Regions from separate parts of the Homo sapiens genome. Here region 1 is linked to region 2. The links are contacts of gene promoters, found by promoter capture Hi-C in human tissues and cell types (Jung and others, 2019). All regions are on one chromosome and are shown on one strand. The core of a region is centred on a gene start or on the middle of the fragment in contact, and the rest is flanking DNA. Distances in the headings are between cores, read along the strand shown.

Region 1 (2,935 bases), core at 254-2,753, 64 kb after region 2:
CCCAACATTGTGCTAGTCCCTTTGCATCGGTGGTCTAAGTCTGCTAACAACCCTGTGAAATAATCATCAGATGAGGAATTTGAAGAGGAGGCAACTTCATTCATTCATTCAACCAAACATATATTCACCTAATTGATTGAGTCTCTATCACAATGCATGATGCTCAATGCACACTAAGACATGATCCCTGACTCCAAGAAGCTTAAAATCAAGTGAAGTAGGCATACAATAAATAGACAAAACATGAGTGCTGTGAAGGAAATGAACAGAACACAGTAACCAAAATCCTAGCTCACTGCAGCCTCCACCTGCTGGGCTCAAGCAATCCTCCCACCTCAGTCTCCCAAGTAGCTGGGACTACTATAAGTGCATGCCACCATGACCGCCTAATTTTTTTGTTTTAAGAGATGAGGTCTTGCTAGGTTGCCCAGGCTGATCTTGAATTCCTGGGCTCAAGAGATCCTCCCATTTCGACTTCCCGAAGTGCTGAAATTACAGGTGGGAGTCACCATGCCTGGCCAGTTTAAGCAGACACCTGAAGGATGATCAAAAGCCAGCCACGTATGAGAGAGAAAAGAGCATCCCAGGCAGAAGGAACCATATATGTGAGAGCTCTGAGTGAGGAAGAGCTTGGTGCCTACGATCACCCAGACAGTAAAGAAAGAGATGATATTTGAACTCAGGCTCTCCTGCTTCCAAATCACTCCAGTCTGAAGTAATCTCTAAGATGGGAAAGAAACATGTGCACAGGAAAGTGATTTCTTTAGACTTCCAGAAACGTTAGCAAGGTTTTAAACCAATGACTGTGAAGTTACAGTGAAATCTTCCATTTAGACAGTACTTTCCAGACTTCAAAGCACTTTCATGGTCATTACACTCGAACTCATTTCACCCTTAAAAGAATCCTGTGAAGACAACTCAGATTCAACACATACTTACACAGTGCTCACGAGGTTTCAGGTACTGTGAAATTATCTTTTTAGTACCTTCTCTGTGCTAAGTACTGGGCTGAGTGTGAAGACATCCGTGATAATTAAGAATAGACACAGATCCAGTTCTCCCCTGAGCTTACAGTCTACTGGAGCAGGGAGACAATTAAATAATCTCATCAATGAATACAATTATTAATGGACTAAGTGCTCAGAAGAAAGGAGTAGTTCTTTTTTTTTTTTTTTTTTTTGAGACGGAGTCTCGCTCTGTCACCCAGGCTGGAGTGCAGTAGTGGTGCGATCTCCTCTCACTGTAAGCTCCGCCCCCCGGGTTCATGCCATTCTCCTGCTCCAGCCTCCAGAGTAGTTGGGACTACAGGCACCCGCCACCACGCCCGGCTAATTTTTTTGTATTTTTAGTAGAGACAGGGTTTCACCGTGTTCGCCAGGATGGTCTCGATCTCCTGACCTCGTGATCCGCCCACCTCAGCCTGCCAAAGTGCTGGGATTACAGGTGTGAGCCACCGTGCCCGGCCAGAAAGGGTAGTTCTTTAAACAAGTATATTAAAAATGAGACCCAGCTGGGTGCGGTGGCTCACACCTGTAATCCCAGCACTTTGGAAGACTGAGGTGGGTGGATCATTTGAAGCCAGGAGTTCAAGACCAGCCTGGGCAACATACTGAAACCCTATCTCTACTAAAACTACAAAAAATAGCTGGGCGTGGTGGTGCGTGCCTGTAGTCCTAGCTACTCGGGAGGCTGAGGTGGGAGAATCACTTGTCCCTGGGAGGCAGAGGTTGCAGTGAGCCAAGATCAGGCCATTGCACTCCAGCCTGTACAACAGATCGGGACTCCGTCTAAAAAAAAAAAAAAAAAAGGGGAGACCCAACCTGGTCTGGAGCCCTGGGAAAGCTTCTAGACAAGGCAGTAGTAACCCTTGAGCTGAAACCTGAAAGATGATAAGGAGTTAATTTGGTGAAGGGAAGAGGAGGAGAAGCAGAGAGAGTGGCTACAGAAAAGCCTTTCCAAACAAGGAAATCATCATGCTTCTGAGGAACTGAGAGAAGGCCGGTCGGTGTAACTGGAAGGGAGGGAGAAAATAATTCAAGAGAGACAAGGTGATAGAATTGAGGTGAGAGAATTTGTTAACGGCTAGATCAAGCAGAGCCTCATGGGTTGCTTTAGAAATTTGATCTTTATTTAGAGGAGTGATGGGTCACATTTTTGTATGCAAACCACATTGGAGGGAGGCCAGAGATGATGTGGGGAGACCAGTTAGTAGGCAGTGGTCTAGATGAGAGATGATGAGACTTGGGCTAGGGTGACTTTTCCAGAATCCCATAGCTAGCCAGTGTCAGAGGTAAACAGAACCTGGGCTGTATTTTCTTGTCCAGTGCTTTTCTCATTACTTTGGAGGAAAGACAGTCTGGAATGGGGTGTCAGACCTGGGCAGGGTGAGCAGGGCATTCCTGCAGGCAAACAGCCTGTTATGGGGAGTTGGAACCCACACAAGTGAGGAGGGATCCATGCAGCAGAGGCAGCCTGGAATGGGGAGTCAGGGCCCATGGAGCGGGAAGAGGTATCTATAAGGTGGAAAGGACGGAGTTAGAGAGCGGGGATTGATTCATACAGGGGAACTCATTAATATGTAAATAAACCAATGAAAGTGAAAGCTGTCAGCAAAGGGAGTTGCAATTAAGGAATGGAAGTAAATCAGATTGAACCCTATGGTGCTGTATTAGATCTGGATCAAACAGTATAGACTAGTGGTCATAGAGATATTGATGTAGATATATAGATACAGGCCAGACACGGTGGCTCATACCTGTAATCCCAGCACTTTGGGAAGCTGAAGCAGGTGGATCACTTGAGGACAGGAGTTCAAGATCACAAACATGGTGAAACCCCGTCTCTACTACAAATACAAAAATGAGCCAGGCGTGGTGGCACACACCTGTTGTCCCAGCTACTCGGGAGGCTGAGGCAGGAGAATTGCTTGAACCAG
Region 2 (3,144 bases), core at 113-2,612:
AAAAAATACAAAAAATTAGCCAGGCGTACTGGCGGGCTCCTGTAGTCCCAGCTACTCCGGAGGCTGAGGCAGGAGAACGGCATGAACCCGGCAGGCAGAGCTTGCAGTGAGCCGAGATCGCGCCACAGCACTCCAGCCTGGGCCACAGAGCGAGACTCCGTCTCAAAAAAAAAAAAAAAAAAAAAAAAGAAAAACATTGCTTGAAAAATAACTTTTGAAATTCCAGTATACAGAACTTTCCTATAGGCTCATCTTAGTGAGTAAATGCACACACCTGCACAATATTTACAGAGAAGCCTGTGCCTTCCCTGAGACAACTTACCCCATTTCTAAGTTGCCATTGCTGGGTCTACCTTGAAACTACTCTTGCTTCCCTAAGCCAAAAAAGAAATTAAAAAAAGGCATATTTTAATGAACTGGAAGAGCAAATGCAGTCTCCAAAAATGGCTAACTTCAATCCTGCAGTTATTTAGAAAGGAAAATCTGGCTTCAAACACTATTGTCTGCAGGCAGGGTTTGCAATTGGCCAGGACCAAGGACAGTGTTTAAAGATGACTCAGTTGTATGGCCTGGGGAGAGCGGGAGTGGTGAAGGGAGACCAGCCAGTGGTCCTTCTAACTGAAAAGGATGCTAGGTCAATTTTTTATGACCTCGAGTCTGTGAAGGCTCAGACCTGCTGAAACCTAGGAGGGGATGTCCAGTGTAAGAAAATCTGAGACCCCAGGAAATGCACTTTCAAATTATCTGAATGGGAGGTGGGTAAGACTCAACTTCCCCCTCTCCTACATCCTCCCCCACCCCCGTGGGGCTTCAGGCTAGGATTTCGGCAGAGAAATCCCTCTCCTTCCAATGCTTTAGGGTCCAACTGGGGACCTAGCCGTGTGACCTTCGCCATACCCCGGAATCTCCTTTGGGACGTCCCCGAGGCCCTCCCTGTCCGGGGCTCAGCAGGCGTCCGCCCGTGTCCCAGCCCCCGAGCGCCCGGGATCGCCTGGGAGACGCATCCGCCGCCCACTGCGCATCTCTGGCCCGTCAGCTCGGAAACCCTCCGAGCCTCACAGGGCCGCCGCCCCGGCCCCTCCTGCTCCGGCTGTCCCACCCCAGCCCGCAGCGCCACGTCCACCGGGTGTCCGGGGCCTGCCGGGGCTGCCCTCCTCCGCCTCGCCTGCGCCCGCCGGCGGCTCGCTCCCCGGAACCCCGGGTCCTTTCCCCCGCCGCCGCAAGCCCCCCACCCGCCGTCCTTCCCCGGCACCGCCCGCCAGGGTCGCTTCTGCAGCCGCCAGCGCCCGCCGCCGCGCGCTGATTGGCTGGCGGGGCCGACGGCGGCGCTGAGTGGCCGGGCGGATTCGCTGGGTCAGGGCTGCAGAGACGCCTGGCGCACCCGCGGGAGCGGAGCCGTGGCGCGCTCGCCCCGGACGCCGGCCGCCCCTCCGCTCGCCCTACTGAGCGAGCGGCCCGGGGCGCCGAGGGGTCCGCGCCGCGCGGGGCGCACCGCCCTGGCCGCCATGTGCTCCCAGCTCTGGTTCCTGACGGACCGGCGCATCCGCGAGGACTACCCGCAGGTGCAGATCCTGCGCGCCCTCCGGCAGCGCTGCTCCGAGCAGGACGTGCGCTTCCGGGCGGTGCTTATGGACCAGATCGCCGTCACCATCGTCGGCGGCCACCTCGGTGAGCGAGGCGGGCCCGGGGAGGGCAGGGAGGCGCGCCGGGGTCCACGAGAGCCGGTCGGGTGGGCGCGCTCGCCGGGCCTCCCGCAGCAGAGTCTCCTTCGGGCCCGCACACTAGCCGCACTCTAGCTGCGAGACTTCTTGGGGTTGGAGAAAGCCGCTAACCTTCATAGCTTCTTTAACCACCACCACCTGCCCCGAGGCCAAGATTCGAGAACGCGATTTAATTTACTTAGGGGACTTCATTTTGTGAGAAACCCGAATTCACCTGAAGCCACCCAGGTGTCCGAGGAAAATCAGGCTGTTAAACCCCACATTTGCAAATCCTGCTCGCATCAATACCTTGACAGTTTAGACTCTGAGGTTTCTAGAAATCCACACCAGATTTACAAAATTACTATTAAGATGACTGTTTTAAAAAAGTTTTTTGGGAGTGTGTGAGCATCAGTAATGTGCACCACATAGAATATTATTTCCAAACTAGAAAGCCACATATGGGGGAAATCTGAGAAAGATTGGAGTCACTTCTCGAGTGTAAAGTGGGAGTGTAGACCTTTGATGGGTTTAACTCATCCTTCTCCCTAGCAGCGTTGAATTCTGATTCCAGAAGAGCCGGGATTTCAGGTTCAGACAGTTCTGGCCTCACTGATCACTCCACTGCTGTGTTCAGGAGACTTTTGTGGGTAAGACATGGTTGTCATCTGTGGGTTTGACCTCAAAAGGTTAATTATTTTTTCGTATATCCTTAATACAGGCCTCTCTGATTTAGGAATCCCTGACGCAGAAAACCCTCTGGCTTGCTGTTTGAGTGTCTCTGGGGCTCCACTGGAGGCATCCAACCATTTCAGGGAGTCCAGGACTCAAAAGGATTTGCGCCCAGTTCAGGGTGCATCTTGGGATACTGTTCGCATTATTTCAACAATTATTAATGGTTAAATAAGCTCGTAATCTGTTACTTTGCTTTGGCAGGGGAAGGAATTTCAAATTCGGAAAGACTACTTACAAGTGAGATTTTGAATATGACCTGTTTCTGAGTGGAATATATCTGTTATAGATTTTTCATCTCCAAGTTTATCGAAGTCCCTCATACTTAATATCAGATTGTATATCCTGTTGGAGAAATATACCATAAACATTAGGTACCTTACATTTAATCTACAACAATGACTATCAGATGCAACCGGTACCCTCTCTCTATCCTTGATTTATTAAAACTGTCACAGTTAATGTAGAACTAGATTTCTGAACAGGGAATCTGCAGATGTGAATTCCTATTACAGCTTTACAGTTAACAAGTATCTTGGCTTTGCTTTGGGCAAACCACTTTTGTCTTTGAATCTCGGGATTCTTATTTATAGAAACTAGGGGTTAAGGTTCCTCTCACTTTATGTGTTTCAGGATCATATTTAAATTGTATAATCTGTTGTATTTCACCGACCTAGATTAAGTAGTTAACATGTACATCTTTCTACCCAGG

Evidence for each region. Contacts are between HindIII fragments. The study calls those that stand out against the background at their distance.
Region 1: a fragment that was not itself captured here is called in contact with the fragment with the promoter of RIMKLA in region 2 in 2 of the 25 tissues and cell types used here (H1 embryonic stem cells and aorta).

Annotation. Positions count from the first base shown.
Region 1 is chr1:42,443,643-42,446,577 of GRCh38, forward strand. All of the region lies in intron 3 of ZMYND12 (zinc finger MYND-type containing 12), which reads right to left. Among named protein-coding and RNA genes, the nearest start is that of ZMYND12, 11 kb to the right of the region's middle. The HindIII fragment of the contact is 6,677 bases long and covers 1-2,935 here.
Region 2 is chr1:42,379,430-42,382,573 of GRCh38, forward strand. RIMKLA (ribosomal modification protein rimK like family member A) reads left to right here and starts at 1,363. Exons shown (of 5, transcript NM_173642.4): 1 at 1,363-1,668. The coding sequence starts at 1,506. RefSeq lists silencers at 970-1,149, 1,160-1,279, 1,360-1,579. The HindIII fragment of the contact is 8,902 bases long and covers 1-3,144 here.